5 separate regions of the Homo sapiens genome follow, and regions 2, 3, 4 and 5 are each linked to region 1. The links are contacts of gene promoters, found by promoter capture Hi-C in blood cells and fetal thymus (Javierre and others, 2016). All regions are on one chromosome and are shown on one strand. The core of a region is centred on a gene start or on the middle of the fragment in contact, and the rest is flanking DNA. Distances in the headings are between cores, read along the strand shown. Region 1 holds the start of MON2-AS1 (MON2 antisense RNA 1). Region 2 overlaps MON2 (MON2 regulator of endosome-to-Golgi trafficking). Region 3 overlaps USP15 (ubiquitin specific peptidase 15). Region 4 overlaps MON2 (MON2 regulator of endosome-to-Golgi trafficking). Region 5 overlaps MON2 (MON2 regulator of endosome-to-Golgi trafficking).

Evidence for each region. The method cuts DNA at HindIII sites, captures the fragments that hold promoters and counts their contacts. A CHiCAGO score of 5 or more calls a contact.
Region 2: a fragment that was not itself captured here is called in contact with the fragment with the promoter of MON2-AS1 in region 1 in 6 of 17 cell types (naive B cells, total B cells, total CD8 T cells and 3 more); the score reaches 8.0 in naive B cells.
Region 3: a fragment that was not itself captured here is called in contact with the fragment with the promoter of MON2-AS1 in region 1 in 5 of 17 cell types (naive B cells, total CD8 T cells, total B cells and 2 more); the score reaches 6.2 in naive B cells.
Region 4: a contact is called between a fragment that was not itself captured here and the fragment with the promoter of MON2-AS1 in region 1, in 2 of 17 cell types (total B cells and naive B cells). The highest score is 5.3, in total B cells.
Region 5: a contact is called between a fragment that was not itself captured here and the fragment with the promoter of MON2-AS1 in region 1, in 4 of 17 cell types (total B cells, naive B cells, naive CD8 T cells and 1 more). The highest score is 6.0, in total B cells.

The regions. Positions count from the first base shown.
Region 1 is chr12:62,482,034-62,486,299 of GRCh38, forward strand. It overlaps MON2-AS1 (MON2 antisense RNA 1), which reads right to left and starts at 2,909. Exons shown (of 2, transcript NR_186172.1): 1 at 2,736-2,909; 2 at 316-999. MON2 (MON2 regulator of endosome-to-Golgi trafficking) reads left to right here. Exons shown (of 35, transcript NM_015026.3): 2 at 2,137-2,200. The HindIII fragment of the contact is 7,471 bases long and covers 2,417-4,266 here.
Region 2 is chr12:62,573,549-62,577,573 of GRCh38, forward strand. All of the region lies in intron 30 of MON2 (MON2 regulator of endosome-to-Golgi trafficking), which reads left to right. Among named protein-coding and RNA genes, the nearest start is that of MIRLET7IHG, 27 kb to the right of the region's middle. The HindIII fragment of the contact is 567 bases long and covers 1,148-1,714 here.
Region 3 is chr12:62,399,871-62,403,915 of GRCh38, forward strand. It overlaps USP15 (ubiquitin specific peptidase 15), which reads left to right. Exons shown (of 22, transcript NM_001252078.2): 21 at 1,317-1,405. Among named protein-coding and RNA genes, the nearest start is that of MON2, 65 kb to the right of the region's middle. The HindIII fragment of the contact is 6,516 bases long and covers 1-4,045 here.
Region 4 is chr12:62,597,040-62,601,314 of GRCh38, forward strand. MON2 (MON2 regulator of endosome-to-Golgi trafficking) reads left to right here. Exons shown (of 35, transcript NM_015026.3): 35 at 1-3,437. Among named protein-coding and RNA genes, the nearest start is that of MIRLET7IHG, 3.6 kb to the right of the region's middle. The HindIII fragment of the contact is 7,638 bases long and covers 1-4,275 here.
Region 5 is chr12:62,554,977-62,559,040 of GRCh38, forward strand. MON2 (MON2 regulator of endosome-to-Golgi trafficking) reads left to right here. Exons shown (of 35, transcript NM_015026.3): 25 at 1,018-1,216. Among named protein-coding and RNA genes, the nearest start is that of MIRLET7IHG, 46 kb to the right of the region's middle. The HindIII fragment of the contact is 4,688 bases long and covers 1-4,064 here.

The DNA.
Region 1 (4,266 bases), core at 1,659-4,158:
AGGCCACTACTGGTTCTGCTGCCTTCGGAAACTAGATACTGCTTTCACTATTGCTGTCATCAGAAAGAATTCTTTGTTGTCTCTGCTCTTTGTTACTAGGTTCTACATTCAAAATTGCTGGTGGGTACATCTCTGGGTAAGCATAGGCTGCCAGCAGGGCATGTGGAAAAGCATCTACATTTTCAGTTTTAATAATGGAAGATAGGCTCTGTTTTGCACCAAAATTTATGAAGTTAGGAATTCTTCAAACACAAGCAAGGGCTTGACATGCTTGGAGCCAACAAAATGACAGAAGTCTACTGCACATGGTATATCTTACAATGTGTTCTTTATTTTAGACATCAATTCATTGTTTGTCAGACTAACAGGCCATAGCATACTGGTGTTTTTACATAATTATTTTTAAACCTTTAGAGACTGCTACCACTTGTCCCTTAGCAAGCAGTAAGAGATAAAATAAATGACCAAGTAGCAAGCAAATTAATAAGAAAACTTGTACATATAGCTTCTTATGAGTACGTACTTACTATCTTTGGAAGTATAGATAACAGTGTATGTATAAAATAGCATGTTTCTAAATAATAAAAATGTTCCAAGTTTCTATGATGGAAATAATATGTCAATATTATATCTCAGCACTCTTCAATGGAATTATAATGTGGGCTACAGATGTAATACATATACGTAATTTTTAACTGCATTAAAAAGTAAAAAGAAGCCAGGTGCAGTGGCTCATGCTTGTAATCTTAGCACTTTGGGAGGCTGAGGTGGGAGGATCGGTTGAGGCCAGTAGTTCAAGACTAGCCTAGGCAATATAGCAAGGCCCTGTCTCTACCAAAAAAATTGAAAAATTAGCTGGACATGGTGGCATGTACCTATAGTACCAGCTCCTTGGAAGACGGTGGTGGAAGGATCACTTGAGCCCAGTAGTTTGAGGCTGCTGTAAGCCATGATTGTGGCATTGCACTCCAGGCTGGGCAGTACAGCAAGATCCTGTCTCTAAAAAAAAGGGGAAAAAAAGTAAAAAGAAACAGACATTTAATTTTAATAATAATTTAACGTAATAATTTGAAATATTATTTCAACATGTAGTCAGTATAAATATTTAGGGGATAGGTTATATTCTTTTTTTTAATACTAAGTCTTCAAAACCTAGTATATATTTTACACTTAGAGCATAGCTCAATTCAGACTGGCCACATTTCAAGTGCTTAATAGCCACATGTAGCCAAATGGCTACCAAATTGGACAGTGCAGTTCTGTGGCATTCTGTAAAATACTATGTGACTTGCCAGTACTGCCCGCTAAACATACTACGGTTAATGAAGTGTTTGGTTATCCATTCTCAAAAAAGAAAACAAAGTAGCTTTTAAAATCCAACACAGGTCTGGGCACGGTGGCCCATGCCTGTAATCCTGGCACTTTGGGAGGCTGAGATGGGTGGATCACTTGAGGTCAGGAGTTCAAGACCAGCCTGGCCAACTAAAAATACAAAAAGTACAAAAATAAAACACTCTACTAAAAATACAAAAATTAGCCAGGCATGGTGGTGGGTGCCTGTAATCCCAGCTACTTGGGAGGCTGAGGCAGGAGAATGGCTTGAACCAGGGAGGCGGAGGTTGTAGTGAGCCAAGATCGTGCCATTGGACTCCAGCCTGGGCAACAAGAGCAAAAAACTCCATCAACAATAAATAAATAAATCCAACACAGTAGTTTTACTTGATTTTGCAGTGTTCTATAATTTTTTTGTGTGTGGTGGAGAGAGAGGAGGCTTGAAATGGGGAAAAGGAGCCTAATTATTTTCAGTAGATTTTGTTTTTGTTTGTTATTTTTATTCTCGGAAAATTTAACTTTGCAGGGGATTGAGGTATTCCAGATAATGCCTTAAGGCAGAGGAAGGCAACATGTTGTAGTGCATTCAGAGTTTGCATGTGAATAATCAAATTAATCATGTTTTATTACATTTAACGTATATGTCACTACTGGGCTTAGTATCTGATGGTTTGAAAATTAAAAAGGTGGTAGGGTAGTGACTGACTTTGTGCTTGATATTTTGTCTATCACATATGACTTATTTTCCATAGATAATTCATTTTGGCAGTAAATTTTGTGTTCTAATTATTTTTATTCTTGCAGGCTGCTGAATCAGGAATAATAAAAGTTAAAACAATTGCTGCACGAAACACTGAAATTTTGGCAGGTAATTTTTTGTATTAAAAATTTAATAATAAACAAAAATTTGACTAATAGTAAAAGTAGAATCTTTATTGTAAAAGCCATCAGTTTTCTGTAACATCTCTTCCTCATGCCCTAACATATGCTATTCATAATGAAACAGAATGGGCAAAAGTCCATAACTTATGAACTGACTGTATTTCCCAGAGACGAATGCTACAAAAATTCTCTGAAATCAGAAAGCTTAACACTACTGACTCCTTAAAGGCAAGGAATTTTTTCTTACTCATCTTCGCATTCTCCTCCACTTCCTGCTAATCACCTGAGACACACCATAAAAAGCATTCAGTAATATTTGTTCCATTGTATTGAATGAAAGATTTGTTCTCAGTCCACCTTCTGTGATCTACTTTCTCTTTAATATAATACGAACAGTTCATAACATAGTCTTCTGTATTTAGTTGTACCGTATGAATTTTGAGTCTTGGGATTAAGGCAGTATGATCATGAAAAAAGAATGAGAGTGAAGTAGAGAAAAGAAAACAAAAATGTTTTCTTACCTTCTCTTGATTGAACCTGATTTTCAAGGAGGAATTTTCAGGAGTTTCTCTTTGGCATCCTTCTTTTCTACCCAGTCCACTCCTTTCTCTTCCTTGGTGCCTTTTGTTCTTGCCTCAATAATGAACATGGAAAAGAGGTAAACTGGCTTTTTTTTTTTTTTTTTTTTAAGAATCTGTTATATGCAAGGCACTTGTGTCATTCTATCTTACATAACAACCTTGTGGGGAAATATTATCTTATTTGATAGTAGAGCTAATTGAGATGTGAAGAGGTTAAGTTACTTGCCCAAGGTCACAGGAAAGGTGATAGAACCAGATTAAAATCCAGGAGTGTTCAGGAGCCCATGTTCTTCCTGCTACAGTGTGCTACCATGGTATCACCAGGTTTCCACGTTAGCCACTTACTCCCAAGTATTACATATGTAACCAGTGCTTGCTTCAGTGATCCTTTAATCTGCATTTCCAGTTCCAGTAGTGCTGTTGATCTCAGCTAATCTATGAGGAAAGTAGTCCTATTAAATTAATTTACAGAGTCCAAATAGTAAATAATCTCTTTAACTTTCATATACTTTACATTTTTTAAAAGGGATACCAGTAAATCTGTAACTGGTGGGATTTCAGAGTGTTATGAAATGAAATTAAGATTTTTGGGGTCAGATTAAGGATCGGGGGCAAGAGTGGATTTCACTTAGGCTATCCAGCTTTGCTGGAAATTTGCCCTTAGCATAAGCGCTCCTCAATTACATCTGTTTCCCACAGCTTTTTCCCTGATTTTGAACAGTCTTATCAAAACACCCAATAGTTTTATAACATTATGCACAGAAGTAAATAATGCTCTGTGTGCATATTGAGAAGTGGTATAGTGAAAGTGGTGGGTAAAGGCAGAGGTGCACATGGTAGGGTTAGGAAGGCTGGCAAGTGGGTTTTTTTTGTTTGTCTGTTTGTTTTTCCTGAGATGGACTTTTGCTCTTGTTATCCCAGCTGGAGTGCAATGGTGTGGTCTCGGCTTACTGCAACCTCTGCCTCCTGGGTTCAAGCGATTCTCCTGCCTCAGCCACCCGAGTAGCTGAGATTTCAGGTGCCCAACACCACATCTGGCTAATTTTTGTATTTTTAGTAGAGACAGGGTTTCATCATGTTGGCTAGGCTGGTCTCGAACTCCTGACCTCGGGGTTCTCCCGCCTCGGCCTCTCCAAGTGTTGGGATTACAGGCGTGAGCCACTGCGCCCGGCCAGCATGTGGGTTTTAATGGGAGATGTACATTAGGCAGATTAGCTACTGTGGGGAAATTGGTGTTTAAAGAAAAATGATGACCTGGATATTTTTATGTTGGAGACTTACCATAGGCCAATCGTATTAGAATATCACTGTAAATATTTAAAATATTTACTGTTGCTAATATCATTGTTGATACCGTGGTAAGTCCTTAATTATTCTCCAATAATACAAATTTTTATTGGTTTTATAGTTTGTGGAAGACTTTTTTTAAAAAAAGACTGATTTCCTCAGAGGATCACTGTTATTCCAGCAT
Region 2 (4,025 bases), core at 181-2,680, 90 kb after region 1:
GATCCTGTATATAAAAAAAAATGGTTTTCTATGTAAAATAATAATATTTTATATAATTTTGTATTAATGCAGTTGTAGTATAATTTCATTTAAAATTTTAGCTCTAAATTTGGAGGTTTTTTTTTGCTTGTTTTTGTTTTTCTTGAGAGTTTTTCTGCCATCTTCCTTATTCTTGAATTTCTTATTAAATATTCTTCACTTTCTGGACTTTATTCTTATTTTATTAAATCCCGTTTTCTGAAGTTTTTTAATATAGAAAAGTGGACACTGGAACCAAAGGCCAAATAATAGTATTTTACATAATTTTGTATCAATGCAGTTGTAGTATAATTTCATTTAAAATATTTTGCCTGATTATGGCTCTACTTACCTTAAAGGTTTGAGTATGTTTGGTGTGTTGGAAAATACATTACTTAAGAAGCAGCCAGCATAGTGGATAAGAGCATTGGCTTGGCAACCAGACTACCTGGATTCAAATCCCAGTAGTACTACTTTGTACTACTTTTTAGACAAGTTATTAAACCTTTCAGTGACTCATTTTTCCTCATCTGTTAAATGTCAATAATAATGCTCCCTAACTTACAGGGTTATTGTGAGGATTAAATCACTTAAAATGAATGAATGCTTAGAATAGCACCTGGCATGTAAGTACTTTAAAATGCTTGTTTCCACTATTATTGTCATTAATGTTTTTTCTTTCTTTTAAAAAAGGTGACATTATCCATATTAATTCCCATGAAACAACTATTATTTTAAACCAAAATTCTAAAGGCCAAAACTCTAAATGACTGAGACTTGGAAATTTAGCTCTAAATTTGGAGGTTTTTGTTTGTTTTTGTTTTTCTTGAGACAGTGTCTCGCTCTGTCACCCAGGCTGGAGTGAAGTCGCATGTTCATGGCTCACTGCGGCCTTGACCTCCTGGCCTCAGGTGATTCTCCCACCTCAGCCTCTCTTGTAGCTCGGACTATAGGCATGCACCACCACACCCAGCTAATTTTTGTATTTTTTTTGTAGAGATGGGATTTTGCCATGTTGCCCAGGCTTGGAGTTATTTTTAATGGCTAAAAATAATAAAGCTTCTAAATTCAGCTCTCAAGTAACACAGTATCAGTATTCTAAGTTATGGTTATTCTAGTTACAGATTTAAGCTTTCTACTCCATGGAGTAGTTGATGAACACCCTAGATTGAGAGTCAGGAGACCTGTGACCTGGTCCTGACTTGCTGTCTACTTTCTGTTGATCGTGAGCTGGTCCTTTCCCATCACTAGGCATTATTTTCTTTATTTGAAAGACAAAAAGAAGGCCAACCGGAGTACGTAATCCCAGCATTTTGTGAGGCCAAGTTGGGTGGATTGCTTGGGCCCAGGAGTTCAAGACCAGCCTGGGCAACATAGTGAGACTCCGCCTCTACAAAAAAAATTTAAAAATTAGCCAGATATGGTGGCATGTGCCTGTAGTCCCAGCTACTTGGGATGCTGAGGTGGGATGATCACTTGAGCCCAGGAGGTTGAGATTGCAGTGAGCTGTGACTGTGCCACTGCACTCCAGCCTGGGCAACAGAGTGAGACCCTGTCTCAACAAAGAAAGATGAAAAGTTATTTGTTGGAGTAATTGTAAAGGTCCATGAATGTTTAATCATGGACAGCTTATACTGGATAAAGCCAGTTTAGTTTTTGTTTCATAGTTCAAAAATACTTTAAGGCTCAAATTGAAAGCTTTTATTGGTCAGTTGATACTAAAAGTGCAGTGTTAAGAGAACTTAAAAACCATGCACATTTTCAGTTTCATAACAGGTTTTCTCTTTGTTTTTATTTTCTAAATAATTGATAACTTTGGAGGTCATAAACTTTTAGATTTTAAACCTTACTTAATGCCACATATGTACTATGTTCTATAGCTGAAGTTTATCAGTAGTGTTTGAACAGTAGGAAGATTGTTTTGGAAAGTTGCTTGGAATAGCAAGACTTAATGAATTTAAATAAGACTAATACTTGATTATTTTTTATATTGGTACCTTTATAAATCCTTTAACCTAATTAATACATACTCTAAGACTTTAAGAATAAACATATCTCTGTCTGTAATATTCCCCAAACTTTTTGATCTGCAAGATGCTTTGGCAAGGGAATACAATAACACAGAAAATACAAATAAAATGAACTAGCAGAAAAGAAAGCCTTTGCATGTCGTTGAGGGCTATAAGTAAACAGTTTAAGAGAAAGAAAAAGACAAAGTTGAAAAACACAAGGACTGCAATTTGGTAGACACTTGAAGTCTATTAGAAATTCATTTAGCCAACTTTGAGTACCAAAACATGGTAGTTATAAAGGAGACACAATGGGTGAGTGGGAAGTTACACAATCTGTGGACCTTACATTAAAAATCACAAAGTACTGTGCAAAAGAATTGAAAACACATGTTTACACAAAAACTTGTACACTAATGTTCATAGCAGTGTTATTCATAGTAGCAAAAAAGTGAAATTGAATGTAATATATTCAATATTCAATATATTGAATGTAATATAGTAGCAAAAAAGACAAATTGAATGTAATGTATTCATACAGTGGAACATTATTCAGCCATAAAAAAGAATGAAGTGCTAATGCATGCTCAAACATGGATGAACATTTACAACATAATGCTAAGCGGAAGAAACTAGACACAAAAGGCTATATATTGTATGATCTTGTTTATGGGATATATCCAGAGTAACAAATCCATAGAGACAAAGTAGATTTATGGTTCCCAGGAGTTGAGGGGAAGGGAGATGAGGGAGAGTGACTGCTAATGGGTACAGATCTTTTTGGGGGGGTGATCAAAATGTTCTGGAATTAGAAATGGTGATGGTTGTACAACTTTATGAATATACTAAGGAACACTAAATTGTATATTTTAAAAGGGTGAATTTTATAATATATAGATTATATTGCAACAAAAATTTTAATATGTCATACAGAGAGAACTGACAAAATACAAATAACACTTTATAAGTTTGAAGGCTCTTTTTTATTTTAAATAAAGATTCATGAAAATAAATTTTTAAAGATTACTGTAGTTTTCAAATTTAAGGAATTTAAGATCTTACATGGCTTATTTGTAACCTGCAGTATTGACCATTGCCCCTTATAATTTATAGGTAAATTCTGTTAATCAGCATTTTTAAAAGCTCAATCGATGTTTTTGATATGTTTGCTAGTTATAAATTAAATAACTATTAGTTATCCAGTTTTTAGTTTTGTATGCTACTCTCTTCCCTCATCATATGATATTTTAAAAATCTAGTTCAGTGTTTCTGATATATGATCCAAATAATATTAATATTATTAATGTGTTGAAATAAACACACTAATACACCTTAGCACACAGTATACACACTAAAAGTATTAATATTGTTAGTGTGTATATTTCTATAAACACTAATAATATAGAAATATACACACTAATAATATTAATATTATTTTATTATTTTTGCCTCTTCATTTTTTGTTGATCATCAACTCATCCTTAGTTACCTCCACCATCATCACAAATCTTTTAATATTACTAAACCCTTACCTTCCTTGGTTATAAATTAAAATTAAACACAACTTTTGTCTCTAGAGATGCAGATATAGTCTGTGAAGCTGCTTTGATGGCAGTGATTGTGAAATTCCTCTGATTGGTTCAGGTTTGGGTAAATTTCTTTCAGTTTTTTTACTCTAGTTCCTACTACCAATTTATAGTTAGCTTAGGACTTGGACACCAGAATCTAAGTTCTATGAGAAATGGACTGAGTCTGTCCTGTTCACAGCTAGATCTTGAACACCCAAGAATATAATACCTGATGCAAAGTAGTTGGTACTCAGTAGATATTTGTTGAATGAAAAATGTCCAAATCAAAGAAACCACAGTCTGATGCCCATATATTCCTATATACAAAATTGTACATTATACTTAATATACAGAAGTGTATATTAAACCTAAATGTTCTAATACTATTTTTACATCTACAACATAAAAAAGAATAATGTAGGCTCAAATA
Region 3 (4,045 bases), core at 919-3,418, 83 kb before region 1:
GTGGAGTTTCACCAAAGATAATGCTTACCTTACTTTCAAAGTATTGCCATTCCCTCTGAACATCATCCAAACAGGTAACTTAATAGAAAGAGAATATTGCCCTTTGATTTCAGCCTTATTAAGGATAATACCTCAATTTCTTATTTATATACAAATGGGAAGAATAATTACTTTAGGATGGGAAGAATTATTTAGAAGCCGTACCCTACAAAGTGTCACTTTTTAGAAACAATGACCACATATAATTATTTTGGAAACATTGTGCAACTTTATTTCTTCAGTTATTGAGTAGTTTATACAAGGCATGGGATGGGGAAAGGGGCATTTTTTTAACTTAAAGATAAAGCAGATCTTTAAAAATTATGTGGATTAATGAATCACTTTTTGCCTTTTTCTTGCTGTGTACAGTCATCCCTTTGTATCAGTGGATACCACAGATGTTCAAATTCCTTATGTAAAATATTGTAGTATTTGCATATAACCTAACCACATCCTCTCATATACTTGTATGTGTAGATTATTTATAATACCTAATACAATGCCTGCACGTCACTTCATTCACATAAATTGAACATAGTACTCAGCACGTGGCAAATTCAAGTTTTACTCTTCAGGACTTTGTGGAATTTTTTTTTTTCCTCAAATATGTTTGATCTGTGGTTGGTTGGGTTCAGGGACGCAGAACCCATGTATGCACAGGACCGACTACACTTTTGTTAAAGACTAAAAGAGATTCTGGTGTTAAAAAAAAAAAAAAACACTATAGCATAATGAGTAGAGGTATCAGAAAAGAAATCGTCATAGAAAATTTAATAATAAGTTGAAATTTCAAACTATGAAGTCAGAAACAGATCTAGGTTTAAATCCTAACTGCTAGCTAACAGTATAGTACCTTGAGTAAATTATCCTTCTTTTGATGCCTTAATTTCCCATCTCTCAGGTGGGGAGAATAATAATGATAATACCTTCTTTATGAGACAATACATGTAAAGTGCATAACACTATGCCTGGTACACAGTAAGCACTACATGAATGTTAATTACCATTTATTATCATTAGTGTTATTATGTGAATTTAAAAATAATCTGTTTTTTCCTGAGATGAAAAAAGAATGTTTCAACTTACATGAAAATTATTTTTGGCATCTAATTGTAGAAATTAGAAATCATTTGAATCAATTGAATATGTAATAAATAAGCCTCATAGATGATTATCAGTGTTAATAGATATTCCTTATATAGATGATTATAGAGTTTTGAGGAGTCCCCAGAAAACCAAGATCATTTTCGTCACAGTGATTATATTTTTTTCATTAGATACTGCTTTTGCAAAAAATAAAGATGATGGAAAATGGTACTATTTTGATGACAGTAGTGTCTCCACTGCATCTGAAGACCAAATTGTGGTAAGTTTGTCTTATATTTCCTGAGAACTATGGGATTCACTGTCTTAAGGAGTGAATATAAATTAATAAAAGGGGCTCATGGAACACTGTAGTCTATATTCTAGCAGCTTGAGTAGCTAAAAGACACTAACTCTTATTTAAAGAAATGTCAAATTGTCCCCTAAATGGAAATTTGTCTTCTAAATTTGCCCACTAACAAAAGCATAAATTGCAAGGTGAAAAAATTTTTGGTAGTTTTCAACATGGAGTTTCTAATAAAAATAATTAAGTTTTGCTTTGGAAAGTAGATTCAGCTCTTAACTTTCTAGACATTGAGTACTTAAAGCCAGAATGTTTAAACAAGAGAAAAAAAATCCTTGAAGTACCTTACCGTACCTGTGATCTTTAAAGTCATATCCTGCCTTATGAAAATTAACTAAACTCAAAATGACATAATTAGATAAAACAAATTACAGATTTATAAAAGATTAATACTTGTGTACTTACTACTTTGATATTTTCTGAATAGTAAAAAAAATGAGGAAGTTCCGTCTGTTCACACTTACATCAGTTTATCATCCACCGCTGACTCTCAGTATGGGTTTGTGTGTGTGTGTGTATATGTATATATACACACAGATGCATACATATATATGTATATATACATATATATATATATATACTGTTATTTCTCTCCCTATATCTATGACAAAAAGAGACTTGAATACTATAAATTTTTAAAATTGTGTTAGTTTTAATTAACCACATTTTTTGTTTATATTTAAACTCCTAATTTTTTTTCTGCAAAAGAAAATCAATTCTGTTCTCCTCAAATTGCCCACCTCCTCCATCAGTCTTTTTAACAACACTGCCCTAATCTTGGCTTCAAATAAACAGTTATCTTGTTTATATATAGTATACAAATTTGAGGTTGCCATGCATTTTAACAATGATGATTCTTCATTTAGTCAACAAATTGAATATGATATATATAGAGAGAGAGAGATACACAAAAGACTCCATTCTAAACAGAGTTAAAAAGATAGCTGTCACTCAGTCCAGAGTTTAAAAGATAGCTATCTCTGATTTATAAACCAAAGAAGATAAGTAAATTAACAATTACAGCATGATAAGTACTATTAAATACCTTACTATGGCCACTTAGAAAGGGAACTTCTGTCTCAACTCAGATTTGGGGTTTGAGGGGACAATAACCAGCACAGGGAAGTTCATGTGGTAAAGATGATGTCTGACCTGAGTCTAGTAAAAATAAGAGTAAATTAAACAAAAGGTGTTCTAAGCAAAGAAAACGGTATCTACAAAAACAAGGAGGCATGACAAAGCGTGACATTTTAAGGGAACAGCACATAATTGGATGTGACTCAAAGGAAAAGCTCTTAAAGGGACATGGGGAAGAAATTAGTCTGGAGATAAATTTAGCGCTTAGATCAAGAAAAGTGGCATTCTAGTTGTTTAGACATTTTCTTACAGACTATGAGTAGCCATTAGATTGTTAAACAAGAGAATAACATTGTTCAGTTTGTATCTTAACATTTCTCTGAGAACATCATAGAAGATAGATTGGAGACACTGAGTAAAGAAACAGAAAAGCCATACAGGAGGCTGTCACATAATTTAAGCAATTAAAATAGTAGTTAGAACAATACAAACAAGGGGAGAATGGATTTATGAGATATTTACTGGACAGAATTAATATAACTTGATAAAAGATATAATAAGGATAATAGATGTAGAGATCCAGAGAAGGAGAAGTTTAAGATGACTTTTACTTCACCATTCACCAAGATTGGGAATATAGGAAGAATAGTTGCTGTTGAAGTTTGAGATGCCTGTATGATAGCTGTGTGGAAATTTCCATTAGGTTGTTGGACTCATAAGACAGGAGTTCAGGGGTGAGAACTGATTTAGGTTATACATTTGAGTTGTCAGCCTCAGGCAGCAGTTGAAGCCATAGGTTTAAATGAGTCACCTAGTGAGAGGATTCAGGTTGAGACAATGGTGGGCTGAGGACAGAACATAGTATGTTTAAAGGTCAGGATTTAATAAGTCCACAGAAGAGCCTGAGAAGAAACCAAAGAGATAGTAGGAGATCTGAGTAGTGTTGTCACAGAAGCAAAAAATTGTTTGTTGATAGGAAAAGAAATAGTGAAGCATTAAATGCTACTGAGAGATTGACCAAAAGAACTGGAAAGGTCACCCATTTCAGTTGTTTATTAGGTTATTGACCCTGCTGAAAGCCATTTTGCTAGAATGGTTTGGGGAAAAGCTAGATTACTTTGAGTTGAGAAGTGTGCATGAGAGTGAATGATGAGTATTGACAACTCTGTTTATCACCCTGACTATGAGGAAGAGGAAGAGAGGTATATGGCAGCTAGAAGGGGAAGTAGAATGGAGAGGGACTTATGATAGGAAAAACCTTAGGTATTTTTTAATGCCAAAGAGACAAGTCCAGTGGATAAGGACTCATTGAAGATACACAGTGATGATTGATGGAACAGCATCCTTAAGATGGTAGGAAAAGTTGGACTCTACAGCAAACATGGGATGAAGTGACTAGTATTAGAAGGGAGGAATTTACCTTTTCCTTAAGAGATGGTAGGAAAGAAAGCATAGAATTCTATTTTTACGTTAGAATTGTGA
Region 4 (4,275 bases), core at 266-2,765, 110 kb after region 1:
CTAAACAGAGATGATGATCAATGAGTTACTAATTCTTTAGAGGAAAAAATGCATAATTTGAGTGTGGAGTTGATTTTAATGACAGGGTAATTCAAGTTGTTTGATAAATTTATTACTATATTGTAAGAGAGATCTTTGACCATTTTTCTTCCTTTTTCTTGGACATCACTTTCTTCCCTCCCCTTCTCTCTTTTATGTTTTTATCCTTGTTAAATTTTATGTTTACGTTACCATCTTTCTTATACTTTCCCCTGATTTTTCTCTTTTAATTCCTCTTTCATTCTCTGCCTCTTCTCTTTCAGCTCTTTCTCTAATTGTGCCTATTCCTTGTTCATAAGAAGTGGAGCTGTTAGTGGTAGAACCACTGCTCATGGTTCTACCACTACAAAGTGGAAAGTAGAAATACTTTGCACTTTGGCCACTGTTGCGTTTTTGCCAAGGTAAAGTTCCCCTGCCATTTTGAAATAGCTGAACAAGTTAAAGTAATATGTTCCAAAAACTGGAAGTGCCATAAAAAACTAAAAATAAAAAAAAATTGTGACTATAACTCCTACTGTCTTTATGAATACACGGGATTCAGCAGCCAAGATGCTCACAAAATGGGATTGCTATAAATATGATGGATTCAGCACCTAAATTTGGAATAATCATGTCTTTTCTGTTATGTGGGTAGAGAGATTATATATCTTTTCTCAAAGTAAAGTATTTAAAACCTGTTTAAATGAGGGTTTTGGCTGGCGTGGTGGCCCACACCTGTAATCCCAGCACTTTGGGAAGCCAAGGTGGGAGTATCACTTGAGGCCAGGAGTTTGAGACTAGCCTAGACAACATAGCAAGATCCTATCTCTAGTTCAAAAAAATATTTTTAATTAGGGTTTTGGTTTTTTATGATTTTGGGGGGTGGGGGAGATATTTGTTTTTTTGAGGCAGACGTTTAAACTTTTAGATTTATCCCATCTTAATATTGATTTATATTGACACTGCCTACTTACAAGAATAATTTGAGGCAGCATATTGCCCATGTATTTCAACTATTTTCATTTTTCTGTTGCAAAGCAGTCTTTGATGGAAGACCCGGAATCTTATAGTTCTCATATCTGAGTCTTTCTGGAGTGTATTTGGTGTCTGTGTGATTGGTTCACCCAGAGGTCACCCAGAGGTCAATTGAAACCTTCCTAATTGTACTATGGTATTGATTCTATCCCCTCAAGTATGAAAAAATTAAATTTTCAGACCATTTTCAGTTGCTGCGAATGTAGTTACACTAAGTTTTATTTTAAACTAAAATTCAATAAACAGTGCAGCCAGGGAAGATCTGCTAAACCATGCCGTTATTTGGAAAATCATTGCAATATATTAACAACTGCTTCCTTCTATGATGTTTACTAGATGGAGAAAAATACTCCATACCTATATTGCAATTTTATTTTTATCTAGAAAAAGAAAATATTAGGCTTCAGACCCAACTGTGCAAATTTCATTTGCTTTCCATCTCTTACTACTACCTCTGTGTCATAATTTAACACGTAACATACAACTCCTGTCTCTTAAGGCAGCTACCATATGGTGTTTATGTCAGACTGGATATATTTATCTAATTTTGTGAAATTATTTTTTAGTTCCCAACACAATTCTTGAAAGTAATACCACTGTTGTTACTCTTTCTCCTTACAATTTTTATGTTGTTGAGATGTATCAGTTATGTATTATAATCATGAAATTGTATTGGCCTCAAACCCAAATTTTCTTTGTAGTCTAGGATAGATTTTTCATGAAAGCTATATAGTTATAACTGTGATTGTACAGATTGTTTATTTGTTTTACAGCTAACATTAAGCATGATTCCAGGTTTTTAATTATGTTCCAGCAACACTAGTGTTTCTTTATAACTTAAAATCATAACCACTTTGATAATTTACCTTTGGATCTGACCAGTGATTCATTTTTTTCTTGAATATACTTTGTGTTTGCTTTCTCATCCCCGTTAAGTCTGAAACATTATTGACACCCCACATCACTTACTCTGTTTAAAGACTTTACGAGTAGTGAGTCACATGTTTAGGATGATCACTTTGGGAAAAAAAAAATTATAGAGTAAAGGGGAAATGTTCTTGAGAGCTTTATTAAAACCATTAATATATAAAATGAAAAAATAATAAACAGAAGACACGAAGTGTCTCTCAATAGTTTAGAAAGAAAGATTTGGAACTTTAAGTAAAAATGCTAGGTCAAGTAAAAATCCTGATGTAGATTAGATTATCTTAATCTTATGAGCATTTTTTTTTAATTTGGTGAAGCTGTTTTGAAACTGCCTGTCCATATCAATGCCAGACTATCTCTCTACCTCTCAAAGAAAATAATTTGCATTAAAATTCCTTTTTTTGTTATGTAATGAAAGTATAAAACAAGAATTTGTACGTTACTCAGTGTGTACTGCAGTCAGATATAGTTAAAATAATTTTTCTGATGCGTAATTTTAACCACCATTTCTGGAGTACCTAGTATGTGCAGGCCAAGGCTTTGCCTATATTATTCCCTTTAATCCTCAAAGTAGCCTTGCAAAGAAGTTATTTTCATTTTACAGAAGAGTCAAGGATTAGGGGGTTGAAGTGAGCTGCCTAGAGTCACATACCTAAAGTCCAGGTGGATCACTATGTCTTGCTTTTTCAAAAGCAGTTCTTTCTACTACAGTACAATAGTTTCATGTTTTACAGTCCATTAAAATCCAAGACTTATAAAATAAACTAAAAATACTCTTGAGGCAATTACTATTTCTATGATGGGCACTGGGACAAATATACTTGAACATAACAAAGAACTAAAAATACTGTGAAAAAAAGATTTGTCTTAACGATGACCTTGAAAGTTGCATTGGGTTTTTATTATTGGTCCAGGTTTAAAACATTTTATCTATTTAAAACATATGTTGTGTGTTTTAAGAAGTTATGTTATAAATAACAGCATTGTGGTTAAGAGCCCAGAGTCTGGGGCCAGGCTTCTTAGATGCAAATCCCAACTCTGTTATTTTACTAAATGTGTGACCTTGGGCAAGTTAATTAACCTGTTTTGGTGTCCTCCTCTGTGAAATGGAGTTAATCGTGGTATTTAACAGAATTCAAAATGTAGTGTGTTCTAAAGCGCTGTGCCTGGAGCATCATCACCACTAGGTGGTTAGGGAAGTAAAACACATTTGGCACACATCATTCAAGAATGGCCAGAAAATCCATGTCTTCCCACAATAGGGACCAATTTTTTGCCTTTCACCAGACAACCACTGAATGTTAAGAATCTACTGTGTGCTAATAACTGTGTCCTTGCTGTATGACAGAAGCTATTTGGAGCGCTCTCAAGTGCTTATTACAGCTAGTCAAGGAAACCGCATATATAAAATAATACTGGATACAAGACTATACAATTAAATACTGGTGTATCACTAACAACTGTTTAGACCCTGTTTTTGCGTTAAGCATTGGGTTAGTCTCTGTCCTCATGGAGTTTTCAGTTTTATAGGGAATACAGACCTTTTAACAAGTATGTAAAGTACAGTAAAAGACAAGTACAGATTAAAATGAAATCATAAAATAGGAACCTTAGCCTAGTCTTCTGTGGTTCAGGTTAATAGTGCTGTTAGTAGTCAGAAGGAAGTTTTTTAAAGAAATGAAAAAGCTCAGTGGTTAAGATAGAAATTAAAGTTAGTCTTGATGGCTACCTAGATTTTGGATGAGTTCAAAGGATATACGGAGGGATTTCAGGCAAGATAATGTGAGCAAGGCATATCTGTGAAATAGAAAACAGTGCATTTTGGTGTATTGTGTGAAACAAGGTTGGTTGTGAAGGATTGGGTCCCTTCATAAAATTCCTTGAAAGCCAAGGAGAGTAGTTTAGATTTGAGATGGCAGGGTCTGGAGTGATTTAAGAATAAATTATAAAACCAAGGAAGATAAACTTGCAATCATAAGCAGGATAGGATATATACAGTATGGAAAGCTAAGCTAGAAAGCTGTTGCAATTTTCTTGCTATGAGGTGATGATAAAGAATTGATTAACGGTGGTCATATTCAGAAAGGATACTTAAGATTCCTGATATGCAGGGAGGGGGGAGAAAAAGTTGATGGTAACAGTACATTATATGTGGATGATGAGTATATTGGTGTTAGCACTGTTAAAAACATTATGGAAAGGAATGTAAGTGATAAAGTAGTATAATGACTAAATTTAGTTGGAAACTACTGCTGTAACAAATCTGTATACCATAGACCAAACAGGTGTTTAGTG
Region 5 (4,064 bases), core at 542-3,041, 72 kb after region 1:
TAGTAGAGACAGGGTTTCACTGTGTTAGCCAGGATGGTCTCGATCTCCTGACCTCGTGATCCGCCCGCCTCGGCCTCCCAAAGTGCTGGGATTACAGGCATGAGCCACTGCGCCTGGCCAGCTTTGTTCTTTTCTTATACATTAACCCATAAATTCTCCATTGATGCCTCAACAAGTCTTATATTTTATCCATTTAATTTAATTTAATTTTTTTTTTGAGACAGGATCTCACTCTGTTGCCCAGGATGGCATGCAGTGGCATGATCACAGCTCACTGCAGCCTCAACCTCTCCTGGGGGCTCAGGTGATCCTCCCACCTCAGCCTCCCAAGTAGCTGGGACTACAGATGTATAACACCACATTTAGCTAATTTTGGGTTTTTTTTTTGGTAGGGACTGGGTTTCGCCATGTTGCCCAGGCTGGTCTTGAACTCCTGGGCTCAAGCAATCTGCCCACCTTGGCTTCCCAAAGTGCCAGGATTACAGATGTGAGCCATTGTGCCCAACCTTATTTTTTTATATTCCATGATAAACTTAAGAATGTATAATTATGGCCAGGCACAGTGGCCCACGCCTGTAATCCCAACACTTTGGGAGGTCGAGGCGGGCAGTTCACCTCAGGTCAGAAGTTCGAGACCAGCCTGGCCAACATGATGAAACCCCATCTCTACTAAAAATACAAAAATTAGCTGGTGTGGTGGTGGACACCTGTAATCCCAGCTACTCAGGAGTCTGAGGCAGGAGAATCACTTGGACCTGGGAGGCAGAGGTTGCAGTGAGGCGAGATTGTGCCATTGCACTCCAGCCTGGATGATAGAGTGAGACTCCATCTAAAAAAAAAAAAAAAAAAAGAATGTATAATTACTCTATTGGTCAGTTTCCTCCAATATATAGGGATTGATAAGACTGTCAAGTATATTTTTTGTAACAATTTGTAGATTCTTATGCTGTTGCTCCTATGCTATTACTTAAGCTATATTATCAATGCATTTTAAATGACATTTTAATAAATATTTAGGTACTCTTTCATCTACTGGACAGAGTTCGAGAGTCCTCTACCACTGCAGACAAAGAAAAGATTGAGTCTGGAGGTGGCAATATTCTCATTCATCATTCAAGGGACACCGCCGAGAAGCAATGGGCTGAGACGTGGGTATTAACATTGGCTGGAGTAGCAAGGATCTTCAACACTAGAAGATATTTGCTGCAGCCTTTAGGTATACGTACATTTTTTTCTGATTATACAAGTAATTAATGTTAAAAGAAATTTGGAAAATACAGACGATTCTTTTAGAGTCTATCTTAACTTAGTCTTTATGTGTGGTGTGTGTGTAAGCATCTGTGTTTTCATTCGTTTGTACCTACTGTGGGCTAGCCTCTAGAGGATACAATGAAAGGCAAAATACACGTCATTCTTGCTATCATGGGCATGAGGAAGTACCCATAATTACATAAATAAAGGCGAAATTTCTACAATGATGTGTTACAAGGAGTGGTACTTTGTGAGCTTCGGTAAGTATTTGACCTGGCCAGTGAATTCCAGATGGACTTTCCTGAGAAAGCAATAGTTTTCCTGAGATCTGTAGGGTAAGTAGGAGTTCATCAGGCAAGAGTAAGACGAAGTGTGGAGAGCCTTATAGTCAATGAGAGAATGTAAAAGAGACAGGAGAAGATTGAGGAAAAGAGATGGTGGATGCTAGCATGTTTAAAGGTCTAGAATGAGGAGAATAAGAAAGAGTTTGATTATCAAAGAGATTGAGAGGTAGTGAAAGGCCAGATCATCCAGATCATGTAGAATGTGTTAGGAGAAAGTTAGGAGGCTGGGCATGGTGGCTCATGCCTATAATCTCAACACTTCGGAAGGCTGAGGCAACAGGATAGCTTGAGCCCAGGAGTTTGAAACCAGCCTGAGAAATATAATGAGATCTCATCTCTACAAAAATTTTTTTAAAATAAAAAATCATCCAAATGTGGTGGTGCACACCTGCAATCCCAGCTACTTGGGAGGCTGAGTTGCAAGGCTTGCTTGAGCCTGGGATGTGGAGGTTGCTGCAGTTAGCCAAGATCGTGCCACTGCACTCAAGTCTGCGTGACAGAGTGAGACCCTGTCTCGAAAAAAAAAAAAGGATTTCATCCTAAGAGCAATGAAAAAAACTACTGATAGATTTTAATTCATGATTTGACATGATCAAATATGCACTTCAAAAAGATCACAAAGTGCATGTCTTAGTGTATATGTAGAATGGAATGGCAACAAGGAAGGATGACAGGATGTTGTTGGACTGGTTAGGAAGCTGTTGGTTGTGTATATCAGTGGTTCTCAAACAGGGCCTATTATACTCCCATAAGACATTTGGCAATTTTGGAGACATTTTTAGTTGTCATAACTGGGGAAGGTTGAGCATTACTGCTATCTGGGGAGGGTAGAGGCAAGGGTTGATGCTACACATCTTACAATGCAGCCTCCTATAACAAAGAATTATACAACCAGAAATGTCAATGGACTAAGACTGAGAAACCTGGTTGCCGATTATACTACTTTCAATTCTGGTGGTAATGCTGGTGGTGGTAGAAAAAGGTGAACAGAGATACTTTTGTACATAGTTATGAGCATGTTGTACATATTATCTATTTTATTATTTCGTGTTTGGCATTTTTTAAACTAATTTATGTTAAAGCACAAGCATATTTACTCATTCCATAAGCATTTTTGTATATTGTTCTTTATGTGCACTTTTTTCTCCTTTTTTCCAAAAACTATTTATGGTGTCTGATCCATTTAGCATGTTAGGGCTTGGTATATGTATTTTTAAATATTGGGATTTTTTCATATAAAATTTACGTACAGTGAAATGCACAAATTTTCACTGTACATTTGCTAAGTTTTGACAAAATGAGCATCATTTTTAGTACCTTCATGATATTTCTCTTAAAAGCTGAGAACGAATAGATTTATATATATATATATATATATATATATATATATATTTTTTTTTTTTTTTTTTTTTTTTTTTTTGAGATGGAGTCTCGTTCTTGTTGCCCAGGCTGGAGTGCAATGGCACGATCTTGGCTCACCCCAACCTCTGCCTCCCAGGTTCAAGCGATTCTCCTGCCTCAGCCTCCTGAGTAGCAGGGATTACAGACAGGCATGCGCCACCATGCCCGGCTAATTTTGTATTTTTAGTAGAAACGGGATTTCTTCATGTTGGTCAGGCTAGTCTCAAACTCCTGACTTCAGGTGATCTGCCTGCCTCAGCCTCCCAAAGTGCTGGGATTACAGGCGTGAGCCATCACGCCCAGCCTAGATTTAGATTTTTTTTAAATGAAGACATAAGACAGTTAATGTCTTTGATAATTTTTTATAACTTTAAGAAATGATATTTGTTATTTTAGAATAAGTTTTATATTTTTAACATAACCACGTGCAATATATAATTATATCTACTCTTTTAAAGGGACCCCTTCTCTGACATAAAATATGTTAATAGAGAAATTGCAGGAGTTTTTCTCCCTAAATGGCACGGGATATTCTAAATCTGATATTAGGTCACCATTCTGATTGGCAAATATAGTGATTCATGAGACTTTTAAACTTTGATGGCAACAGGTAGAAGTGTTTTAATTGTTTGACATTTTAAAATGTAATTTGTCAAAACTCTTTTAAACAGTTTACTTAAAATTCTGTGTTTTTATTGTATGTAAATTATACCTCAATTTTTTTTTTTTTTTTTGAGATGGAGTTTTGGAGTTTCACTCTTGTTGCCCAGGCTGGAGTGCAGTGGTGTGATCTCGGCTCACTGAAACCTCTGCCTCCTAGGTTCAAGCGATTCTCTTGCCTCGGCCTCTGAGTAGCTGGGATTACAGGTGCCCACCACCATGCCCAGCTAATTTTTTGTATTTTTAGTCGAGACAGGGTTTCATCATGTTGGCCAGGCTGGTCCCGAACTCCTGACCTCTGGTGATCCACCCGCCTTGGCCTTCCAAAGTGCAGGGATTACAGATGTGAGGCACTGGGCCCAGCCCTCAATTTTTAATAAAAAGAATATGGAGGGGAAAGATGCATAT